2 separate regions of the Homo sapiens genome follow, and region 2 is linked to region 1. The links are contacts of gene promoters, found by promoter capture Hi-C in human tissues and cell types (Jung and others, 2019). All regions are on one chromosome and are shown on one strand. Each heading gives the region's core, a stretch centred on a gene start or on the middle of the fragment in contact. The rest is flanking DNA. Distances are from core to core; before and after follow the strand shown. Region 1 holds the start of FRG2C (FSHD region gene 2 family member C). Region 2 has its middle 2.6 kb from the start of MIR1324.

Region 1 (4,554 bases), core at 556-3,055:
GGTCTCTTTTATCTAAAATATATAGAATTTAATAAATAAAAATTTAAAAAATTTACCTGAGATTAAAGGACAAATCAAAACACATATGTAATATGTTGTCTGTAGGAGTATATTTTAACAGTGACATAAATTATTAATAATCACTAAATGTTATAATAATTTATTAACTAAAATGAACAAAATTCCTATTATGATATCTATGAAAATACTTCCTTAGAGTAAAATATTCTCATATCTTGAGAGGGCACTGGTTAAAAACAGCAAAGATGTGGAAGTCGATGTCTTATCAAGTACTTACTATCAAGTAAGTAGCAGACCCCCTTCACACCTTTTACAGAGTTATCCAAAAAGCAGTCATTTACACAAGAGCAGACAATTTTCCTAGCTTTCTATTGAGTTTATATGTTAATATTGTTAAAAAATGTAACTCAATTTTCTTATAAAATTACCTGACCAAATTTTATATATCATATCAAAATTTATTTAGATGTCAAATAAATTTTATAATATTATAATATATAATGATATCATATTATGATAAGTTCCATTTACATTCAGACAATTTCACTAGGCAGTGTCTGTCTACCACTAATTCTTTTTTGGTTCCACTATTTGCACAGGCAGCACAGCTGGGAAAACACAGACTCACCCAACACAGTCTCTTCCCCGTGTCTTTCTCCTCCTCAAGGAATCATTTCATCAGTCAATCAAGTCATTTGGGACTGGAGGCCGAGTACTCCCTAACATAGAAAGTCTCATTCCTGCATGCTTTCCTCAGCAGAGGGGGAGAGAAGAAGGTCCTTTTAGGGGACACTTGCTTGGACGTAGCCTAGGCTAGTTGGAGGGCTCTGACCAGCAGAGACAGACTCCGCCGCAGTAGGAAGGGATGAGGCAGCTATTCTGAACCTGGAGCTCCACCACACTTTGTCCCGTCTCACTGAGGCAATTTTGAGAGGCTGCCCTGGAATATGGTGGTTGTTGAGAAATAATGTGGGCTTTGACGGGATTCAGGTGGTGTCTGCGGTGTGAAGACAGGAGCTGAATGTTTAGAATCTAGGCTGTTTTTCTTGTGATCAGCTGGGTTACCTGTTTGCGACCAAGTCCATTTTTACTAGGGAGGCTGAATAAATTCCACAGAACACAATGGCCCTCCCAGGATGACTGAGGAAGGGTGAGAAAGGGGGAAAGTTTTTCCACCTAGAATCAGGGGCTGATTAGGTTAGCACTGGCTCAACCTAATCAATGCAATTTTATTGCATTTGATCTAATTATCTTCCCCATTTTTAAGGTAGGAAGGGCCATTTCATTTGGTATTTATTTTTTCTCTGCACTTTTATTTCATCATCTATGTGTGGATCTAATAGACTCAACCATAATTTGACATTTGTTGTTTCCAAGCATTTAAGAAATTATAATATCTATGCATACAACGTTAACACTATGTATAATAAATTCTCTTTCTGTGCAAAATATATAACATATGTCAATATAGACATGTTTAATTGTGCATCTTGAAAGGTGAACAGGATCATAAATACCTCCAGGTAGGAACTGGGACAGAAATCGGAAGAAATGATTCCCTGATCTTCCGGTCCCTGTGCTCCCGGTTCTTTGTTTTCTTGACACTATGACAAGATCCTGAAAATGTCTCCCCTTAACTGTGTCTAGGTCCCCAGTAGAACTACAGCAAGAAACTTCTGATTGAGGCTCTAAGAAGCGGCAGGAATGAGAAAACTCTTCAGCCAATAAGAGTAAGCCACGCCCAGCCGAGGGACGTATAAAAGGCAGGTCTAGCAGACTAACCCACACTCTGCCTTTGGACATGTGAGAGAGCGCACCTTTCACTTGAGCTTCAACATGGGAAAGGGAAATGAAGACCCCGATCTCCACTGTTCCTCCATCCAGTGCTCCACTGACCAGCCCCCTTTCCAACAGATCTCCTTTACAGAAAAGGGCTCAGATGAGAAGAAACCATTCAAAGGAAAAGGCAAGACCGCCTTCTCCCATTCCAGTGAGAAGCACACACAAAGGCAAGGTAAGGCCTTGGGCTGCTCCTATGGAGGCTGGAAGGAGGGTTGGAATCAGGGATACTGAGCTATGTGTCTTTAGCAGGGTTTTATTTTGAGATTTGGGGATGGGAAATGGCTTAGTGCCCTTAGGGGACTTTGAGAAATGTGTTCACTCATGACACTGGCAGAAGAGCTTCACATGAAAGACTGATTCTCAAAAATGCATGAGAGATAGACTATGGGACTCTGCCTAGGGAGAGGTGAGCCATCTAAACCTTCTCTTGCAGCAGGATCAGATCCCAATCCAAACAAGGAGAATTCTGAGGAAACCAAGCTCAAGGCCGGGAACAGCACTGCTGGATCAGGTAAGATTTGACTCTTTCAAGGTGAGAAGGGACAGGGCAGCAACACAGGCTCCCCTGGCAAGGAAACTGGGAGCTCCTTGGCAGCCAGGGCAGTACAGATCCTGGACACTGGAGAACAGAAGAGAGCTGGGGTTTGGCGGTAACCTCAGCTCCTGTGTGTCCAGGATGGACTAGGAATTTCAGGGTGTTCAGTTGGAGGCACTTTCTCAAACTCTCATTGTGTTCACAGAACCAGAGTCCAGCTCATATCAGGAAAACTGCAGGAAAAGAAAAATCAGTTCCAAGGATATCTGCCAAGACAGAGCAGGTAGAATCTTGGTGTTTGTTGTTGTTGGTGGTGGTGGTGGTTTTTTTGTTTTTGGTTTGCCCCAAAAGGCAAATAATCAGGAAACTTTTATACGAGGCTTGAGCGGAAAGGGAATTACTTATTGACAAGTAAATTTTTGAGATCCTAGCACTCTGAGAATATTTGGGGACTCACAAGTGGTTCAGCCTCACTTCATTCCAGTCCTGAGATGGTCAGGAAGGAGTGGGAGAGACAAATGGGGTTCACCTGGGTGCACAGGGGGTTCTGGAAATGAGGGTCTGTGGGGACTGCTCTGGTGAGTCTCTCACATGCTTTCTTTGCAGGGAACTGTCCAGAAGAGGAGTGCAACTTGACGTTGAATAAAAAATCAAGATCCTCCACTGCTGTGCACAACAGTGAAATCCAGGAGACCTGTGATGCCCACCATAGGGGAAGTTCCAGGGCTTGCACTGGGCGCAGCAAGCGGCATAGGTCTCGGGCCCTAGAAGTCCAAACACCGTCACTTCGAAAAAGCTTGGTGACCTCTGTGCGAGCTATGTCGGAGGCTGTTTATCAAGACCTAGCCCAGGTGTGGGCACAGCAGATCCATTCTCCACTGACCTGTGAGCAGCTGACACTGCTCACTCGGCTCCGGGGGCCTCTGTGTGCCCAGGTGCAGACCTTGTATTCCATGGCCACTCAGGCAGCTTATGTCTTCCCTGCTGAGAGCTGGCTTGTCCCAGCCACACTGCCTGGTCCTGGGGATTCAGCCCTGGATAGAGAAGCCCATCCCTTCCCTGGGCAGGAGATAACTGAGCCTGTCAGTGGATCAGATGAGGCTAAGCTGGGAGCACCCTGACCCTATTCAGCAGAGATGCAGCTCTGGGAATGAGAACAAGGACCTGCTTCTTCTCAGATTCTTCCAGACGACCAGCAGTGACAATTTTAGATGCACTGTGTTAATAAATGACAGAACCTGAAGAAGTCATAGGAAAGAAACTTGAGCGGTATACTCAGAATGGTGAGCCCTGAATTTTGCAGACCGCTAAGGCTATAGACAAATTTTATATTTCATGTTAGACATTTGATACCTTTTGGATGTCTGATGACAGTCGTGCATTTCTATATAATCAGAAAAATATTAGGTTGCAATCGTGAATTTTCATATTTTAGATTGTAGAAAAGTAAATATAAAATTATATGCTCTTTTTTTTTTTGAGACAGTCTTGCTATGTCACTCAGGCTGGAGTGCAGTGGCACAATCTTAGCTCACTGCAACCTCTGCTTCCTGGGTTCAAACAATTCTCATGCCTCAGCCTCCCAAGTAGCTGGGACTACAGGCATGTACCGCCATGCCTGGCTAATGTTTTTTTCTTGTATTGTTAGTAGAGTTTTGTCACGTTGGCCAGGTTGGCCTCGGACTCAAGTGATCCACCAGCCTCCACCTCCCGACGTGGTGGGGTTACAGGCATGAGCCGCTTTACCAAGAAATTGCTTCTCTTTTAATTCGGAAAAGGTTGTAGGCTCTTCCAGCCTGAACCCATGGAGTACTAACATCCACAAACCATTAATAGCACTCCCTGTGGGAAAATGTTTATACATTTTTACAGTTTGCATAGTAAAATTACTATGCAAGCTGTTTACTTTTAATATTTCTACATAAAATTTAAGTCAAGATATATTAAATGGTAAATGATTGTACTTATTTATTCATCTGCCTCATGTTTTATTTCATTTTAAACATCCTGAATTTATATTTTATTGTATTTCATACATTTCAATTGATTGTACTGTATTGCAGGATATGGAGATTTCATCACATACTACAATACAGTGTATTTTGTTATATTTGACGTATATTCTACTTGTATTTTGTACTGAGATCATACAATCT
Region 2 (4,554 bases), core at 1,123-3,622, 36 kb before region 1:
GGCGCAGTGGCTCATGCCTGTAATCCCAGCACTTTAGGAGGCTGAGGCAGGTGGATCACAAGGTCAGGAGGTCCAGACCATCCTGGCTAACCCGGTGAATCTCTGTCTCTATTAAAAATACAAAAAATTAGCCGGGCGTGATGGCAGGCACCTGTAGTCCCAGCTACTTGGGAGGCTGAGGCAGGAGAATGGCGTGAACCTGGGAGACAGAGCTTGCAGTAAGCCGAGATCGCACCACTGCACTCCAGCCTGGGCGACAGAGTGAGACTCTGTCTCTAAATAAATAAATAAATATATGTTGTATGCCACAGAAAAAATCGAATATCCTTGTCAGTTGTGGTATAATGAACTCTCCTCAGATCTTTCATCACAGCCATTTCATACTTTTGGTCATTTAGATATTATTTCCCCCTGATGCTTTCCTGAAAGCTCCTGCAATCAGCTACAGGTCAGAATATTCGTCTCCAAGACAGGACTCCCTCTGAGACTCACAGAAAAGACTATGACAGGTACTCTGGTTATAGGCTTCTGATGATATTGCTTAAATAACTTTAAGACCATACGCTTGACTCAGTTAAGGTCTCCAGAAGTCTGGTTGGGAAATTGATGGGTTCCTGACACTGCTAACCCAAGATCCACAAGACTGGAATTGATTACATGGCACTGAATGAACTGATGAAAATTGATTATAATTTTATAGCTTTTTGGAGCATTGCTGGTTCTTTAATATTCTAGTTTCTGGATTTAAGAAATCTCTTTCTCTTACTCTAACTGTAACTTGCAACAATTTAGTAGATTATACTTTTGTAAACAGAAATGAAGCATTTATCTTTTTTTCCCTGCCTGATTTTTCCAGAATTTTGAAATCCTTACTGAATACTCTCATTTCCATGATGATATAGTTGTTAGCAAAAGTCCAATAAGAATCTATTCACCTTATAACAGGACATAATTGGAAATTTTGGTTATATTATCAAGATTTTTACTGGAATATCATATTTAGGAAGTGTACCTAAGATCAGTTATGACAAGCAATTTTAAGGAAGTAAGGTTGACTTTTATGGAGACAATGCTTACAAAGCACTGTGGAAAACTTTGAGGAAAGTTCTTCCTCAAAGATTATAAAGTCACAACTATCCACTATTTTTATGTGTGTGTGTGTGTGTGTGTGTGTGTATGTATTCCAAATCACTTGTCCTAGCTTGCTCCAGCATGCCTGGACAGAACTAGACAAGCCCCAGCCCATAGTACATGCAATTCCTTATTTGGAGATGCTTCCTTAACTATCCTTGGGCAACTTCCTTTTCTTTCTTTCTTCTATTCCCCTTACCTAATTAAGAAAGTTTTAAACTAACAGCCAATCGGGTAAAGTGTAAATTGTGAGGTCCTATTCCAGCCAATGGAAACTGGACACAGCAGTAGGGTAGATACATCAGGTTATAAGTAACTCTGTCTCCTTTGTTTGATGTGTTCTTGTGGCTGGACAGCTATTGAGTAGCACCCTTTCTGCAGAAAAGTAAAGTTCACCTTGCTAAGAGATCATTTGTTCCCATGTTAATTCTTTTTTTTTTTTTTGGAACATCAAAAACTTCATTCCCAACAGCACTCTGAGAAAAGCCAGCCTGATACCTAGATTACAGGGTTCACAGCCTTATAGGTTAGTAAGGAAGGTCATTTCATGGTAGGCCCAGGAATTTAGGGATATTTTGGGGCCTCAAGAAGAGAGGAATTCACACAAAACTATAAGGACTACAGCTGAAATTTGATAGTATGTTCTTGGCTTGGCTTTTAGCCTGAATAAGGGCTTTAAAAGTCAAATCTGAGATTCTGTATGAAAACTTCCAGCAAAGAAACCTGAAAGCACCTACGTGGTCATCTCCTGTTCTTGCTGCACTTACGTAAATAATCAAGCAAAATCTAACAAAACTAGACTTATTTTTAAAACAAGAATAGTCTTACTTTGATTGTGATCAAAAATGATGGTTACTACAGAGAGAAATTTAATGTTTCAATGGAAAAGTATAACATGGCCGGGCATGGTGGCACATGCCTATAATTACAGCACTTTGGGAGGCCAGGAGTTCAACATCAGCCTGGGCAACATGGTGAAATCTTGTCTCTACCAAAAATACAAAAATTAGATGGGCATGATGGCGTGTGCCTGTAGTCCCAGGTAATCAGGAGGCTGAGGAGGGAGGATCATTTGCACCCAGGAGGTAGAGGTTGCAGTGAGCTGAGATTGCACCTTTGCACTCCAGTCTGGGTGAAAGAGCCAGACCCTGTCTCAAAAAAAATTTTTTTAAAGGAAAACTATAGCCATTGTGGGTTATCAGATTCTAGTCTTGTTTCTTGTTTCTTGACTATTTTTACCTCTTTGCGAACTGGATCCTGCCATCTGATGAATTTTGTCCCACAATGATACTTGGGGAACAAGAAGCCAAGTATTGTCTCTCCTACTAATGCATCTATTGTCAGTTAATTTTAAGGTCTCCAACCCTGGAACAAAGTTAGAAAAGGAAGGTTCTGCTCCCCAAAATGCATAACCAAATTGTGGTACATTCATGTAATGGAATACTATTTAGCCATACAAAGGAACAAGCTATCAACTCACACAAAGACATGAGTGAATCTTACATGCACATTGCTAAGTGGAAGAAGACAGTCTGAGGAGGATACACACAGTGTGACCTCATTTAATGAGACACTGGAGAAGGCAAACTACACAGATGGGAAGCCATTGGCTCCATGGGGTGGGGGTTTGAAGCATTCCATATGATACTTTAATAGTGGGATATCTGCCACAATGCATTTTTCAAAATATGCAGAATTTTACAGGCAAATGGTTAAAGCAAACTCTATTCAAATTAAATAAAATTACTCAGGATGTGGAGTATCCCAGGACAGAATACATCATGTGAAAAAGAATTTATGCTACAAATTACTATGGTTTGGATGTGGTTTGTCCCCGCAAAAGCTCATGTTGAAATTTAACCCCCACTGTGTCAGTGTGGGGTGGTGGGGCCTAGTGGACAGTGTTTGGGTCGTGGGGACGGATCCTTCATGAATAGATTAATGTCCTCCATGGGGGTGAGTGAGTTCTGTTCTCACAGGAATAGATAATTCCTGCAGGACTAGGTAATTAAAAAGAGTCTGGCTTCCTTGGCTTCCCTCTTGCTTTCACTTTTGCTATGTGATCTCTGGTGCACCCCTTGCTCCCCTTCCACTTTCCACCATGAGGTGAAAAAGACTGAGGCCCCACCAGATGCAACTGCCCAATCTCAGACATCCCAGCCACCAGTATTGTGAGCCAAATGAACCTTTTTTACTTATAAATTATGCAGCCTCAGGTATTCTGTTACAGAAGCACAAAATGGACTAAGACACAAATGTAGGTAAAAACTCACTGAAGGTGTAGGGAAAATGGTGTTGACCTAAGTAACTTTGAAAATGAATAGAATCTGTAGGCTGATGGCAAATGAACTATACTTCATCATTGGATTCCATTTTATAAAGTTCTTTCCAACAGAAGCAATTGTGAACAATTGTAAAACCACGGTGTCTGTATCTGGAATAAAACAATGACTTACATAAGTCACAGATGGTGGGAACCAGGTTTCTCACTGTTGAAGTGGGAGGTTACAAATTAGCAAGGCGAGAAGGCTAGAATGATTCATGTGATAGTAGATCAGAGGTGGAGACATCAATGTAAACTTATGTTTAGTTTAATATAGATACACACAGTTCTACATAGAAAACTTTATAATTAGGTGTGTATAGGTAGGTTAGACACACACATATACTTCCTAGCATTGCCAATGAGGGACAAGATACAATGTGCTCATTCAGCAGCCAGATGCAAGTTTTCCTACCATTCTGAAAGGAATCAGGCTCTTTGAAGAAATGTCTGATACTAGAACTGGGACAGTAAATATAGGAGCCAGGATAATATAGGTCCAGGGGGGGCCATCGTGTCTCCAGAACCAGAACTGGAAGGTCCAACTTCCAGGGGGAGAAAGGAAGAGTGTCCTTAGTGAAGTGGAGGGCCTCACAGCAAGATGCCTGGCTTAATCAAACTTGGACATACCTGAAGCACGTTCAGTGACTAAAAGTGCCTACCATGAGCAGCTGGAACCCACTCCCTGAGAGCTTCAAGAAGCATGGGTACCTCTTGTACCTGTTTGTAATTACAGCCAAGGACCAGCAGGCAGCATTACTGCATCCACATGGGGCTTTTACTGGAACCAGTAAGTCTCTGCCAGCCCCTCACAGGCTCCTGGGATGCCACTCGTTCTGGGTCTGTGGACAGACAACCAGGACACTTGCTCAGTGCCCACCCACTCCTTGTGGCCCACAGCCCATCACTCAACCCCAGCCCCACCATCCCCTGCTTCCTAAGCCGTTCCTCATGCCAGAAGAAAAGGCAATGCCTTTGTCCCACAGCCTCTGCCTTGTGTCATGTCATGTGGGGGTATGGAATGAACCGGCCAGCCTAAACTCCAGTGCTTCTGCCTGAAGAATCTGTCCCCACTGTCTGAGTCGCCCTCTAGGGAGCTG

The links. Contacts are between HindIII fragments. The study calls those that stand out against the background at their distance.
Region 2: a contact is called between a fragment that was not itself captured here and the fragment with the promoter of FRG2C in region 1, in 2 of the 25 tissues and cell types used here (spleen and stomach).

Annotation. Positions count from the first base shown.
Region 1 is chr3:75,662,523-75,667,076 of GRCh38, forward strand. It overlaps FRG2C (FSHD region gene 2 family member C), which reads left to right and starts at 1,806. Exons shown (of 4, transcript NM_001124759.5): 1 at 1,806-2,035; 2 at 2,297-2,374; 3 at 2,604-2,681; 4 at 3,005-4,554. The coding sequence starts at 1,858. The coding sequence ends at 3,519. The HindIII fragment of the contact is 22,089 bases long and covers 1-4,554 here.
Region 2 is chr3:75,625,906-75,630,459 of GRCh38, forward strand. It overlaps the pseudogene CLUHP10. Among named protein-coding and RNA genes, the nearest start is that of MIR1324, 2.6 kb to the right of the region's middle. The HindIII fragment of the contact is 9,895 bases long and covers 1-4,554 here.